Regions from separate parts of the Homo sapiens genome. Here region 1 is linked to region 2. Evidence: promoter capture Hi-C in 16 types of primary human blood cells and fetal thymus (Javierre and others, 2016). All regions are on one chromosome and are shown on one strand. Each heading gives the region's core, a stretch centred on a gene start or on the middle of the fragment in contact. The rest is flanking DNA. Distances are from core to core; before and after follow the strand shown.

Evidence for each region. Contacts are between HindIII fragments. The CHiCAGO score rates a contact against its expected background, and 5 or more counts as called.
Region 1: a fragment that was not itself captured here is called in contact with the fragment with the promoter of ADGRG7 in region 2 in 1 of 17 cell types (endothelial precursors); the score reaches 5.9 in endothelial precursors.

What each region holds. Positions count from the first base shown.
Region 1 is chr3:100,461,151-100,468,081 of GRCh38, reverse strand. No RefSeq gene overlaps it. Among named protein-coding and RNA genes, the nearest start is that of TMEM45A, 28 kb to the left of the region's middle. RefSeq lists enhancers at 1,558-2,058, 1,788-2,097. The HindIII fragment of the contact is 1,305 bases long and covers 1,313-2,617 here.
Region 2 is chr3:100,606,392-100,612,958 of GRCh38, reverse strand. It overlaps ADGRG7 (adhesion G protein-coupled receptor G7), which reads right to left and starts at 3,358. Exons shown (of 16, transcript NM_032787.3): 1 at 2,988-3,358. The coding sequence starts at 3,102. The HindIII fragment of the contact is 7,171 bases long and covers 2,190-6,567 here.

The sequences.
Region 1 (6,931 bases), core at 716-3,215, 140 kb after region 2:
TTTCTGACAGAACCATACAGAAAAACACACAAAGCACACCAGATTGGCTATAGCTTAAGACAAGCCTCATAAATCATTTTTCATTAATCAAAACTTTATGGAGAATATAAGCAGTTATCCTCACCATTTTTTCTATCGGTTTGCACAGCAAGAGTGAGGCCAAAAGACTTTGGCCTAACAAGGCCAAAAGTCTGACTGGGTAAAAAAAAAACTTTTACCCTTTTGCTGGCATGTCAGGCTTCTGGGTTCCCTTCCCCTGAGCTCAATTCTAAGCCAAGCAGTTTAAGGTTTGGTAAATTAATTTTTCCTAGTTTAGAGGATGCATCTGAGGAGAGTGTCCTATAGTATGGGGATGCAATTACCCATCCACAAAGAGAGGACAGAGGAGGAAAAAGGAAAAAGAAGGCTTTTTTTCCAAGATGCCCCCCCAGGACTCAGGATGCATTCAAGGGGGGTACGAACTAAAGATGAATGGTTCTTTAGACAAAAGAACTGCCTCAGTGGGTGCATGGACTAAAACAGAGCAAGTGCTACTGACCCCATTTTGGGAAGATGAATTGTTACCCAGCTGGGAAGAGTGGATAAGCCATCCCCAATTCCTTTTACTTCCCAGTGAATACCCAGGGTACATGAGGGAGAGAAAAAATAGGCATCTCTTTTCTTTCTTATGTCCTTGTATCTGAGTCCCAGCGACCTTGACAAGGTGCCACCCATGGGTGCCAATGTGGCTTTCACTCATAGTAACAGAAGGGCCAAGGGGGTGGGAATATTTGAACTCACCCACATATGCCCTGTCCCTGCCTGTTGTCATAACCTTTGAGTTCCCTAGGCCTCATTTATGCCATGGATACAGGCATGACCTCTATCCATGAAACAGGAGGCTTGGTTTGATTGGCAGGAATTAGCCATGGTCACTTATGCTTTGCATTTTAACTTCCATTGTTGTCTGCCTCTGGACCCCTCATATTCAATTTTCTATCCTGAGTCTTCAACTCTAAGCTTGGAATTGAGTTTGGGACAAAAGAACTGCCTCAGTGGGTACATGGACTCATCAAGTCCCAGGTGTCCCTCGCCAGACTGCAGCCAGCAGCCAGCGGGACTGCTCCTCTGCTGCCTCCTTACCATAAGCCAAATGCTAAGGTAAAGCTGAGGAGCTGGGTCCTCTTCAAACAAGGGAGCGAAAAAGGGTGTCCTGTGGCCTAACAAGATGCCTTCCAAAAGGAGGAAAAAAAACTCTTGCATAGAAAACTCCCTATATCTACAGGGCTGTGTTAACTGCTGACAGGGTGGAGAAAAGGAAGAAAAAAAAGCTTAAGTTCAGGGCTGGGAAGATGCCTTGGGTAGAAACCTCTTATTTATTCTTATGCAAGTGGGTTTCTTCAACAGGAAAAGAAACTTTTAATTGCTGTCTCCTCCTTCTTGGCTCAGCAAGGGGAGGAAAGACTCCTTGGGCACCTAGCAGGAGGGGACGGCAAGTGAGAAATGCTGGCCAGCCAGCCATGAGGGACCCTTGTGCTGTGTGCCCCAGCCAGGAGGGGAGCAGGGCAGGGAGCTTGCCAATCTGTCTTGTGTGCATGCCTGTGGCCATTGGGGTGGGGGTGGAACATGCCCACTAAAAGATAGGTGCCATTACAGTCCTGAAAAAAGAAGGAAAATGCCATAGAAAAGACTGGGTTGGACAAAGGCCAACATTCCTGACCCCTGAGAGCAACAGGGGGGCAGGGGGCAGGTTGCAGTATCCCCTGCCTTCCGAAAAAGTCTGAGGATAAGAAAGCTCAGAAACAAAAGTGAAAGAGATTGTTGGGTCCACATTTTACTCAACCTTCTGACAAATGCCAGACAAGCCTCCAAAATGATGCAGAATTTTTTGCTCTGAACTAAGGTTCAGCTTGGTCTGGGTTCTTGTCTCACAATCAGGAAGAAGTAGATACATGGACACTGGAAGAGTGAGCAAGGCAGGAAGTTTTACTGAGTGATGAAACAGCTTTTAGTGGGGAAGTTACACAGGGGTAGTTCCCCTGCCTGAAGGTAAGAGAGTTTCCAATATGGCTGAGCCCAGGGCTTTTTATGGGCTCAGAATAGGGAGTGCGTGCTGATTAGCTTGTGAGTATGCAAAAAAGTCAAAGACACCACTTAAAAATGGGCATGATAGTGTAGGAAACCAATTAGGAAAGGGTAGGTATATGTAAAATAGTTGAAGGCTGAGTATCAATCAGAGGAAAGCACGCCAAACAGGAGGGCGGGTTCTCAATCTGGTTCAAGGATTTACCTGGGACTGTTTCTGACTTGAAGGTTGAATTTCACCGGGGACCCACCCCTACCTGCCTAGGTATTTATCAACAAGGCTGCAATCAAGTTGTCAGTCATGTGAAGCTCGATTAAAGAAGGATCCATTTCCAAGTTCACATGGCTGTTAGCAGGATTCAGTTCTTTGCAGGTTTTCAGAATGAGGGCATTTCCTTGATGACTACTGGCAAGAGGTCACCCTCAATTCCTTCCCCACGGGCTTCTTCATATGGCAGCTTAAACCCCCTTATACATATATAGTTTGCAAATATTTCTTCCCAATCTGTAGGTTGCCATTTCATTTTGTTGTTTCCTTTGCTATGCAGAAGCTTTTTAGTTTGATATAGTCCCATTTATTTATTTTTGCTTTTATAGTGAGCTTTTGGTATGATATCCAAAAAATTACTGCCACTGCCAGTGTCCAAAAACTTTTTCCCTTTGTTCTCTTTTAGGAAATTTATAGTTTCAGGTTTACATTTAGGTATTTTATCAATTTTGCAAAACTCCTAATTTTGGTACATAGCATCTGTTACAGTCAGCCCTCTGTATCTGTGGGTTCCACATCCAGGGATTCAACCAACCATGAAAAAATATTTGAGAAAAGATAAATGGTTGTGTCTGCCCTGAACATCCACAAATTTGTTTTTCTTTTTATTATCCCCTAAATAATACAGTATAACAACTAGTTATATAGCATTCACATTGTATTAGGTATTATAAACAACCTAGAAATGATTAAAAGTACAGTTATTATTCCTTGTTATATGTGGGGGATTTGTTCCAGGACTCCCAAGTACACCAAAAGCCATGCATACTCCAGGTCTTGAAGTCAGCCCTTTGGAACCCACGTATAAGAAGAGTTGGTGCTCCATATACACTGGTTTGACATTCCTCAATAATGTATTTTCCATCTGTGTTTGGTTGAAAACATCTGCTTATAAGTGGACCTGCACAGTTTAAGCCAACATTGTTCAAAAGTCAACTGTATACAGAACGATATGCATAGGTTATATGCCAATGCTACACCATTTTATATAGGAAACTTGAGCATCCATGGATTTTGGTATCCACAGGGGGTCCTGGAATCAATCCCCTATGGATAGTGAAGGACAGCTGTGTATCTTGATGCCTCAGCCAAAATCTCAATATAAGCATTCTGTTTTGTGTATATGTCTATTTTTCCAACAAAAATTGAAGTTCCTTGAAGGCAAGGACTGTGTCTCACTCATCTTGGTGTGCCCCACCTATTACGCTGCAGTACATGCAGCCCTTAGTAAATATCCATGAATTAGCAAAGCAGAGAGGAAACTGTTTCAAGATGTTTATAATACTTAAGAAATGGCTTTGCTGGCTGGGCATGGTGGCTCACACCTGTAATCCCAGCATTTTGGGAGGACAAGCTGGGCTGATCACTTGAGGCCAGGAGTTCGAGACCAGCCTGGCCAACATGGCAAAACCCCATCTCTACCAAAAATAGAAAACTTAGTCAGGCATGTTGGGGCATGCCTGTAATCCCAGCTATTAGGGTGGCTGAGGCAGGAGAATCACTTGAACCCGGGAAACAGAAGTTGCAGTGAGGAGATCGCACCACTGCACTTCAGCCTAGATGACAGAGTGAGACTTTGTCTCAAAAAAAAAAATGCCTTCACTGTTGTTTCATTCATTATTTCTTTCACTCATTCAACAAACCTATTCATGCACCATGCTGTTTGCCAAGAGGATATTCTCAACTTAGAAGGAGAGTACCATAATTTCTTTTCCCACTTCAAGAAACTCTTCTTTGTCTTCTAGCCACAGAGCTAACAATGACTAATGACGGAACTTTGGGAAAGCAGCATGCTAATATGTCTGAAGTGGCATAGCAATATTGCCTCTGTGATGTATCCCTCCCTGAAATTGTCACACCATGTGATTCACTCAAAACCTTCCAATAGCTTCCCATGACACTTAGAATAACAACCACCTAGGTAACAGATTATCCACCCTTTGCATTTTCCAGCTTCGTTTTCCATTGCACACCTGTCATGCACTCCTTTCCAGGAATATGTTGCTATTTTTAAAAGAAGCCAAGCAAGCTCTTACCTTAGTGCCTTTACACTGCTGCGCTGCTGCCTGAGACCCTTTTCCCTCATTTCATTCATACCTCAGCTCAAATACCACCTCATCAGACAGGCTTTTTTGGAAACTCACTCTTAAAAAGCATTCCCGTTATCTCTATTTCCTAACTGTTTTTGATTCTTCATGACATTATGCTATATTTTTCTTTGATTTTTGTTTACCATCTGACATGGTTTGGCTCTGAATCCCCACTCAAATCTCATCTCGAATTGTAATCCCCACGTGTTGAGGGAGGGAACTGGTGGGAGGTGATTTGATCATGGGGGCAGTTTCCCCCATGTTTTTCTCATGATAGTGAAGAAGCTTTTAAGAGATTTGATGCTTACACCTGTAATCCCAGCCCTTTAGGAGGCTGAGTGGGGAGGATCATTTGAGCCCAGGAGCTCAAGGCTGCAGTGAGCTATGATCACACCACTGTACTCCAGGCTGGATGACAGACTCTAAAAAAAAAAAAAAGAAAGAAAGAAAGAAAAGAAAAACGTAACGATAGTGATTTTGTCTTTGGCCAAACACTGAGGCTTGCGTCCAGCATTACCTGTCCAAATGCTGGTTCAAGTCTGCCCCCTAGAGTAGAGTAACCAGAATGTCTTGACAGTAATAATGAGCTGTATTAAGGTCATAACAACACTTGGCTTTTCTGGGAGGCTGTCATACTGTTTTCTGCATTACTTGAAAGTGTGTCAGCTATTACTTTTATAAGCAAAAAAAGTTTCCATTTTAGGAGGGAAAATATCAACTCCAAATACAGTTTTTCATTGTGAGAGAGTCATCTATGACAGTGTTTGGCCTACAATAGGCAGAATTAATTCAAGTTTTAGGGTCCTGCTTGTTTAGAGTCACACTCTCAAACTGTATATGGTCGTCGCTCAGTATGCACAGGAGGTTGGCCCAGGATCCTCACAGATACCAAAATCCGATGATGTTCATATCTCTTATATAAAATGACATAGTAATTGCATATAACCTATTCACATCTTCCTACATACTTTAAATCATCTCTAGATTACTTATAATACCTAACACAATGTAAACACTATGCAAAAAGTTGCTATACTGTATTGTTTTTATTTGGATGGTCTTTTATTGTTGTATTATTATTATTATTGGTTTTATTTTTGAATGTTTTTGATCTGTGATTGGTCGAATCTGTTGATGTAGAACCTGTGCATATGGAAAGCCAGCTATATATTGAGATGCTACTATGTGATAGGTGCCTATTAAGTTTTGGGAATGGAAAGATGATTAAGATATGGTTTCTCTCACTAAGAGTTCACGGGCTAGAGAGGAAGACAGACGTGTAAGGAAATCATTCCATTACATAATGAAGCCTACATGAGCTATACTATAGCACAAGAAAGAATATGAATAGACAGGGCACTTTTATTTCGAGAAGAAAGACGGAAACAAGGAAGAACGGAAGAAAGACAGTTTAGGTATAACAAAATTTACTTAAAATGTTGTAACTAGTATTAGGCCAATTAACCCAAAATAGCACCTTGGATTAATTAAATTTAAATACATTTTAAGCTCAGTTAAACTTAAAAACTAAAATGTTAGTAATATAAAAAGAGGTTTGAAAGTTAGCCAAGGTATAGATCAGTGCTATCTAATAGAAATATAATATGAGACATATATGCTGTTTTAAATTTTCTAGTAACTACATTTATATAAGGAAAAAAGATAATTAATTTTCATAATATATTTGATTTAACCAAATATATCTAAAATATTATTATTTCTATTGTAAGAAATGAAGCAAGATATAAAGGGCCTGAAATCAGGTTGTAGCAATGAGAATAGAGGGAATTCGGTAGATCCAAGTGATATTTAGAGGCAAAATAGACACAAGTTGATGATTAATTAGATGGAGAATGGGAGAAAAGGAGGAGTACAAGTGGCTTCAAACCCAGGTAAGTTCTTCCACGAGCAACTGGTAAATGATGCTACCAGTCACTGAGATAGGGAACACAGAAAGAGGGGCAGAAGGAGAGCAGACAGGGCAATAAAGAACAGTTTACTTTCAAAAGATGAGTTTGAGATGTCTGTGAAACCTGTAACTAATATGTCCAAAGGATGCTTTTATATATGAGTGTGCTGCTCAGGAGAGAGTCTGCACCACAGGGACAGATTTGGGAGCCATCAGCACATAGGTGGCCGATACCCTGCACGTGTTTGAGATTACCCAGGGAAGATAAGGTAACTGAGGCAAATGCTTAGACAGAGCTCTGAAGAAAATCCGTATTTAAGGTATATGGATCTCTCACCAAAGCACCAAAACAACCAGCAGTGATAGGAGAGGTACAAGGAAAACCAGAAGAATATAAGTCTCAACAGCCAGCCAGAGAGGGGCTTCAAGAGGGAGGGAGTAATCAGCAATGTCTGATGCTTCTAGAAAGTCAAGCAAAGTCAAGAGATGTTTTCACAGAATTTGACAGTAAGGAGCTCAAGGGTGACTTTGAAGAGAACGGTTTCTATAAAGGGTAAGGACAGAAGTCACATTGCAGCAGACTCAAAACTGAGGGGAAAT
Region 2 (6,567 bases), core at 2,109-4,608:
GAGATCATGCCACCACAGTCCAGCCTGGAGACAGAATGAGACTCCTTCTCAAAACAAAAATAAAACAACATCAACAAAAATTATCAATGCTATGAAGTCAGACCTTGGGGTTTGGGAATATTTCAACGTCCTGAAATCTCTTGCAGGACTGAAGAACAGGTGTATCCTGTGATAGAGAATGAAGGTTAGAATATCTGGAGATAAGCGGGGATAAAGAAAAAAACAGTCCTGGTGGCAAAGAGCAGGAAATTCTACGAACCAGAAGAGGTGTAGAATATGGTCAAGTAAGGCACTACTCATGTGTTTTGAGGTTCAGATACTCTCCCTTTGGGAGGAGTTAAAGAAAACATTTTCTACCATTATGATTGTGGACATCTGTCTATGATTATATCAGGCTTAGCACAAGTTGGAAAATGCCAATGGGAAGAAATATAATAAAGCTTAATTATGTTTTCATTTTACTTTCATCATCAAGAGTGAAGGGGCCCAAAAGCTATACTGCTTCTTGTGTTTTTCTATGAAGAATGCCCAATGTGAAAAGGCTGGAGTTCTGGCAAAACTGAGATTTTCTCTAAGTTTTTAGCATAGTACCTAGAACATAGTAAGAATTTTTAAAACTATAGGTATTATAATAATTAAATACATAAATAGCATAAATATTGTTGTACATCAGTGTTTACTGCCAAATCAGAGTAACTTCTTACTGAAATTTACTCAGAGCAGAATTTGAAATTTTTTTTTATTTTTCACAATGAGGCCATTACTTTTCCAAGAAAAATAAAAGTGAAAGAGACTTAATTTATATGTTCTTTTAATTTATATATATGTTACTCCAGCCTGGAGTGATTCTTCAAAATAAATTTTGAATGCAATAAAATTAATTTATGCAAAATTTTGTGTGTTTATATATATTTTCCCTACTAAGACATTTATAGCTTTCATCAGTTTCTCAGAGATATGTGTGACCTCTCTCCCCCTTAAAAAAATGTAAAAACAATTTATGTCTATACCTGAATAAAGGAACCCAAGCAAGAATATTCAACAATTACATAGGATGGGATGGGATAGGATAAAAAGAAGTGGAGTAGAGTGGAGTGGAGTGAAGTGAAAAGAAACAGAATTTACCAACTCAAATGCACTCTCAATAAAATGTACAAGGCAAAATAGTAACAGCAAATGGTGCCAGTCTTTCACTCTTTTTCTTTAAATGACAGTGAGAACCCTCTCCTTTTCCATCGGGTTTACCCCAAAGCTAAGAGATGACCCTTATATAAACAGCCAATTGAAATATGCTTCTCAGAACAAGAGAAAAGTTTTTCTTTTTGAGGAGCTGGTATGCCTCTATTGTTAGACATGGGATCTTTATTACTTATTATGCCTCCTTTTGGATCTTAGTACTCAGAAAGTTCGGGAATATATTTTGTATTTATTTTCAGCAACTCCCCCCAAGCCTTGAACTTTCAGGTTTTCTGTCCCCCATCCTGCACTCTTTCTCATGTTGTTTTTGTACTTTGGTCCTTGTTTTTAATGGTTTTGCTATAACTGTGTCCTTTATAAGTCATCATAAATTTCCCTTTAAAAATAGATGTCGCTTACATAAAGGAAAAAAGGAACGGGGGGAAGGAAGGGAGGAAGGAAGGAAGGAAGGAAAGAAGAAAGGAAGGAAGGAAGGAAGGAAGGAAGGAAGGAAGGAAGGAAGGAAGGAAGGAAGGAAAAACAAACAAACAAAACTTTGTGAAGTATGTCCTTTAAATGAGGTCTTATAAATTTGGCAGCCTTAATGGGGTAAAATCCATAGTTCATAATTTTTTAACCTGAATGAAACTATTTTACAACCTTAAACAAACAAAAACACATTTGCTCCAAGTTTAAATTTTACTATTTTTGTTCTGGTAAATTTTCTCATTCTAGTTCTCTAAATACTATCGATACAGTATTCTCTAAATACTGGTTAGGGCGGTGGGGTAGGGGGAGGACAAATCCATCCCCAGCTACCACTCCATCAGCAGCCAGTATGTCAGATCCCTCTGTTGGTCTTCAACACTGGATCTTTGCAGCCATGCTCCATGCTCCTGCTAGCTCCCCAACCTTCTGTCCTCCCCAGTTACCTGCTCAGAGGGCATACTGCCTCTCCTGCTGCCTTTCCCGATCGGCATTATTTACCCTTATTTATTGTTTCATTAGAAGCTTTCTCTGATTTTCACGAAAGGGAGTATGTAGCCCATCCAACATTGAATTCCTTTACGGAGAAGCTCTACAGCCCAAGGGATCCAGCATTAGGATCATTGAAATTTCGCGTTCTGAGTTCCAGCGGGCTTTTCTTTAACATCATTGTTTTACTCACTACTTCCCCTCCCACGTCCTCCTTTTCCAGGCCAGCTCTGGCACACAGCGGGGGACTAACAAATGTTCGTTGAATAATCAGGAAAGTCATTTAAAAATGGTTTTTAAATTTTTGATTAGTTTCCTACATCTGGAAAGTGGGAAATTTGTATGCAAACCATGAGATCATTTCACTTAAACCTTAGTGATGAGTTTCTTTAACTTCTCTCTTAAAATGAAATTCCATTCTGTGTATGTTTGATTGTATGTGTGTTATGCATGTGTGTGTATGTGTTTGATGCATGTGTGTGTCCTTGTTCATAACGATTTACCCTTTCCTGAATTTAGCCAAACAGACCTAAATGTGTGTTACTAATCGTTTTAATTATTACTCTTCTACCAATTCAGTCTGGAGTTAAAAGAGCATAAAGAGGCCAATTCAATTATGTCACTCTTCCCCCTGCCCACTCACACCCACACCTATTCATTTCTATTCAACCATCTGCTAGGCTTAACTGACTTGGTCTTTTATATCCCATAAATGGCACCTTGGTGGAATGCCTCAGACTGGACAAGGTACCTCCCAGTACTTGTGCACCAGGTGGCAGGGACAGAGGTCCCATACCTTCTCTTACTCTGAGTTAAACATAGCAGGACAACATTACCTCTTTGGATCCTGATCACAATCCTCCAGATGCCCAGTCCCAAAATGATGCCAGTCAGTAGTCCACACACGACAGCCACCAGCACCCTAAGGTTCCAGGCACGGCAGGAAGCCATGGTGAAGCCAAACCACAAATCCACTCCTGGGTGAGAAATAACTAGCTTCTTTTCTTCTTGAGCTAAAAAGTTTAATCGGAAACTATTCTAAAACAGAAAAACAAGTCCTCCCCTCAGTGATCTGTCAGATGGATGTCTTTGTATTTTAGGACTTTTGAGGCTAATCCAGTAGGATGCAGTTTGAATCTCCTAATAAAAGGTGCATACTCTGCTTTCAATTTCCTCATCCTTCACTCAAGGAGAACATGAAAAAAGTGATTAGAGTTATGGGAATAGGGAGATAACTCAGGGCAATAAAGAAGAAGGGGAGGGACTAGCCACAAGGGTCAAAGAGTGAATGCCCAGACAAGCCACAGAGTGAAGGAAGGGAACAAAATAGAAGAAACCAAAGAGGAAATCACAAAGGCAGTGGTTGCCAGTAGTCACCTATGGCTCGGCTTCCTGTATTTTTGTCTTGGGAGGGTACAGCAGAGATAGACTGGCAGGTGCTTCAGACCACACAAAACACTCTCTCGGGGAAATGAACTAGGTTGTCAATAAGAGGATAAATGGCAATCACCACACATGGTTTTTAGCGCTTGCATTTCTTTAAGGAGCCTACATTTTGACAGATGCAGTTGGTGAGTGTGCATACTGGCACAGGCTGGGTCTTGACAAGCACTAAAGCCCAGCATGATAACCCACCTGCTATGGGCTGAATTGTGTCCCCTCCAACATTCATATGTTGGAGTCCTAACCTTCGGTACCTCAGAATGAGGCCTCACATGGAGATGTGGTTACTGCAGAGGTGATCGAGTTAAAACGAGTTTGTTAGGGTGGTCACTAATCAATATGGCTGGTGTCCTCATAAGAAGAAGAAATCTGAACACAGACATGAATACAGAAAGATGATCTGAAGAGACAGAGAGAGAAGACGGCCATCTACAAGAGAGAGTCCTCAGAAGGAACTGGCTCTGCTGACACCTTGACTTGACTTCTAGCCACCCAAACTGTAAGACAACAAATTTATGTTGTTTAAGCCACCCAGTTTGTGGTACTTTATTAGAGCAGCCCTGGGAAACTAATACATCATCAGAGTAACTACAAACTGGTGTCTCTCTATAGATGCAGCTCTGACCCTCTCCTGCCCAGGCTCCCATGTTCTCCTTCCCTACCCTCTACCCTTACAGGGAAGAACAGATACATGAACATTCACCTCCTCAATCACAGTTTTGTTTTGGTAGAGAGAACAGATGCTCTGGTCTTCTCTGGACACTCCCTTGCTTCATCAAATCCATATTAAATGCCTTTAATGTGTTTGAATTGGTACAAGACATGAACAGGGTCCTCAAAGAACTCATAATTTCTCAGGGGTGAGATACCTAGATATAGCCACCTATAAGGCAAGTCATAACTGCTAAAATAAAAGATCATCATATTTAATTATTATGGAGTGCAGGTGCTCCTTGACTTACAATAAGATTACATCCCAATAAATCCACCTTAAGTTAAAAAATATCTTAAGTCAAAACGCATTAAATATACACCTAACCTGCTGAACATCCTTGCTTAGGCTAGCCTACCTTAAATGTGCCCAAAACACATACAATAGCATAAAATTGGGCAAAATCATCTATCACAAAGCCTATTTTATAATAAAGTGGCGAATATCCCATGTGATATATTGAATACTGTAGTGAAAGTGAAAAACAGAATGGTTGTATGGGTACCCCAAACATGGTTTCTACTGAATGCATATTGCTTTTGCACCATGGTGAAGTTGAAAAATCAGAAGTGAAAAAAACCATCATAAATTGGAAACCTATGTACTAGCCCGTTACTACCTACATACCAGCCCATTAATTCCTTCAGGAAGTATTCAGCAAGGCTTTACCAAAAAAGGCTTTACACTTAAACTGACCTTTAGTTAACCCCCAAACACTATGGGGGTTTCCAATTCTCTGTGACATTCACTTTATAAATGTTTTGCTATAAACATAAGGCCCTAACTTTACCCCTCCCAAGAATTTCAGAAAAACAAATTGAGGTAGCACAAAATGGAAGAACTTAGAAGTACTGCTGCAGAAGTACAACACAAATGAATGCAAACCCATTACCTCATTTACTGGGAATAGATCTTTAAAAATCTGTTTCTGATATGTCTGCATACACATGCACAGAAAATGTCTGGAAAGGTACATGAAAAAGTTCCTCTTGGGAATCTGAGGAATCTGAGGTAGGAGAGAGTTTTAAAATTTTATATCCCTTTTATAGTTTGAAGTTTTAGCCTTGTGTATTCTTTCTATTATTATAAATAAATATATATAACTTTTTCAATAATAAAACAATGGTTTTCAATAAATAATAAATAAATCTAAGAAAAGGAATTAACACCTATCATATGTGTAGTGTATACCAAGGATGGTGCTTTATACTTTACACATGTTTATCTCATTCACTCTGTGTAAAAGCCCCAGGTAACATAATGTGTTTGCCCTTTGCATGAATGAGGAAATGAGACTGAAACTGGTATTATTCTACACAGGAGCTTTATGGTTAAGTACCTTTGGATGAAGCCAGGTAACACAAAGTTAAACAGTTTTCTCCACTCTAGCATTTCTTAGAGCATTCACAATGTTCATGTCCATTGTGAACTGCTAGAGAAGACATGTATGCAAGTATGTTCTCAATGTTATTTGAACTCAGAATCCTCTTCTCAAGAAGGATCTCTCAGAGACAGGGTTCTTCAACACATGCTTTAGAAACACTGCCCTGTGTGGTCATCTGCAGAATGGTCTTAGTTGAACAGTGTGACTGAAGGAAGGGATCCTGGGTCTCAAGTTTGCCATCTGGTGATGGTGTTTTTCTCTTGTAGGGTTCTGAATCTTTTGAAGGGATTATAGTCTAATGACTAGAAAACTAATTTTGATGGTGATCACACATCCTCTCTTCCACAGTTGGTGGAAGTCCTGGAGTCCTGGGATGCTGTAATGACTGCTGCTTTATAGGGCTTCCATGTCCTTAGCCACATGACAAGGTTTATAAGGCTTGCCATCTATCCAGCTAGAAACTCCAGAAATTCATGGAATTGAAGAAATTCCTAGGCACAGAAATTAAGATGTTGACATTTATGTAAGGGCATTAATTACTACTGATAAGAGACAAATGTGTAAAGGGTCACCAGTATTTACACATACATACAATACACACATACCAAGATGACAAAGAAGAAAAGGAAAAGAGTTAAACAGGAAATAATTCATTTATTCTTTCATTCTACTCAATGCAGACATTGTGCTAGGCACTGGGGATAAAGTAGTGAACAAAAGACAAGATCCGTGTCTTCACCCAACTTACACTCAGGGAGAACTGGATTTGTACCGATGCTGCCACTAATTTGCTGTGTGACTCTGGGCAAACCGTGGGGCTTCCATTTCTTTATATTTTAAACAATCCAGTTGAGGCCTTCCCTTCCTGAACATTTCA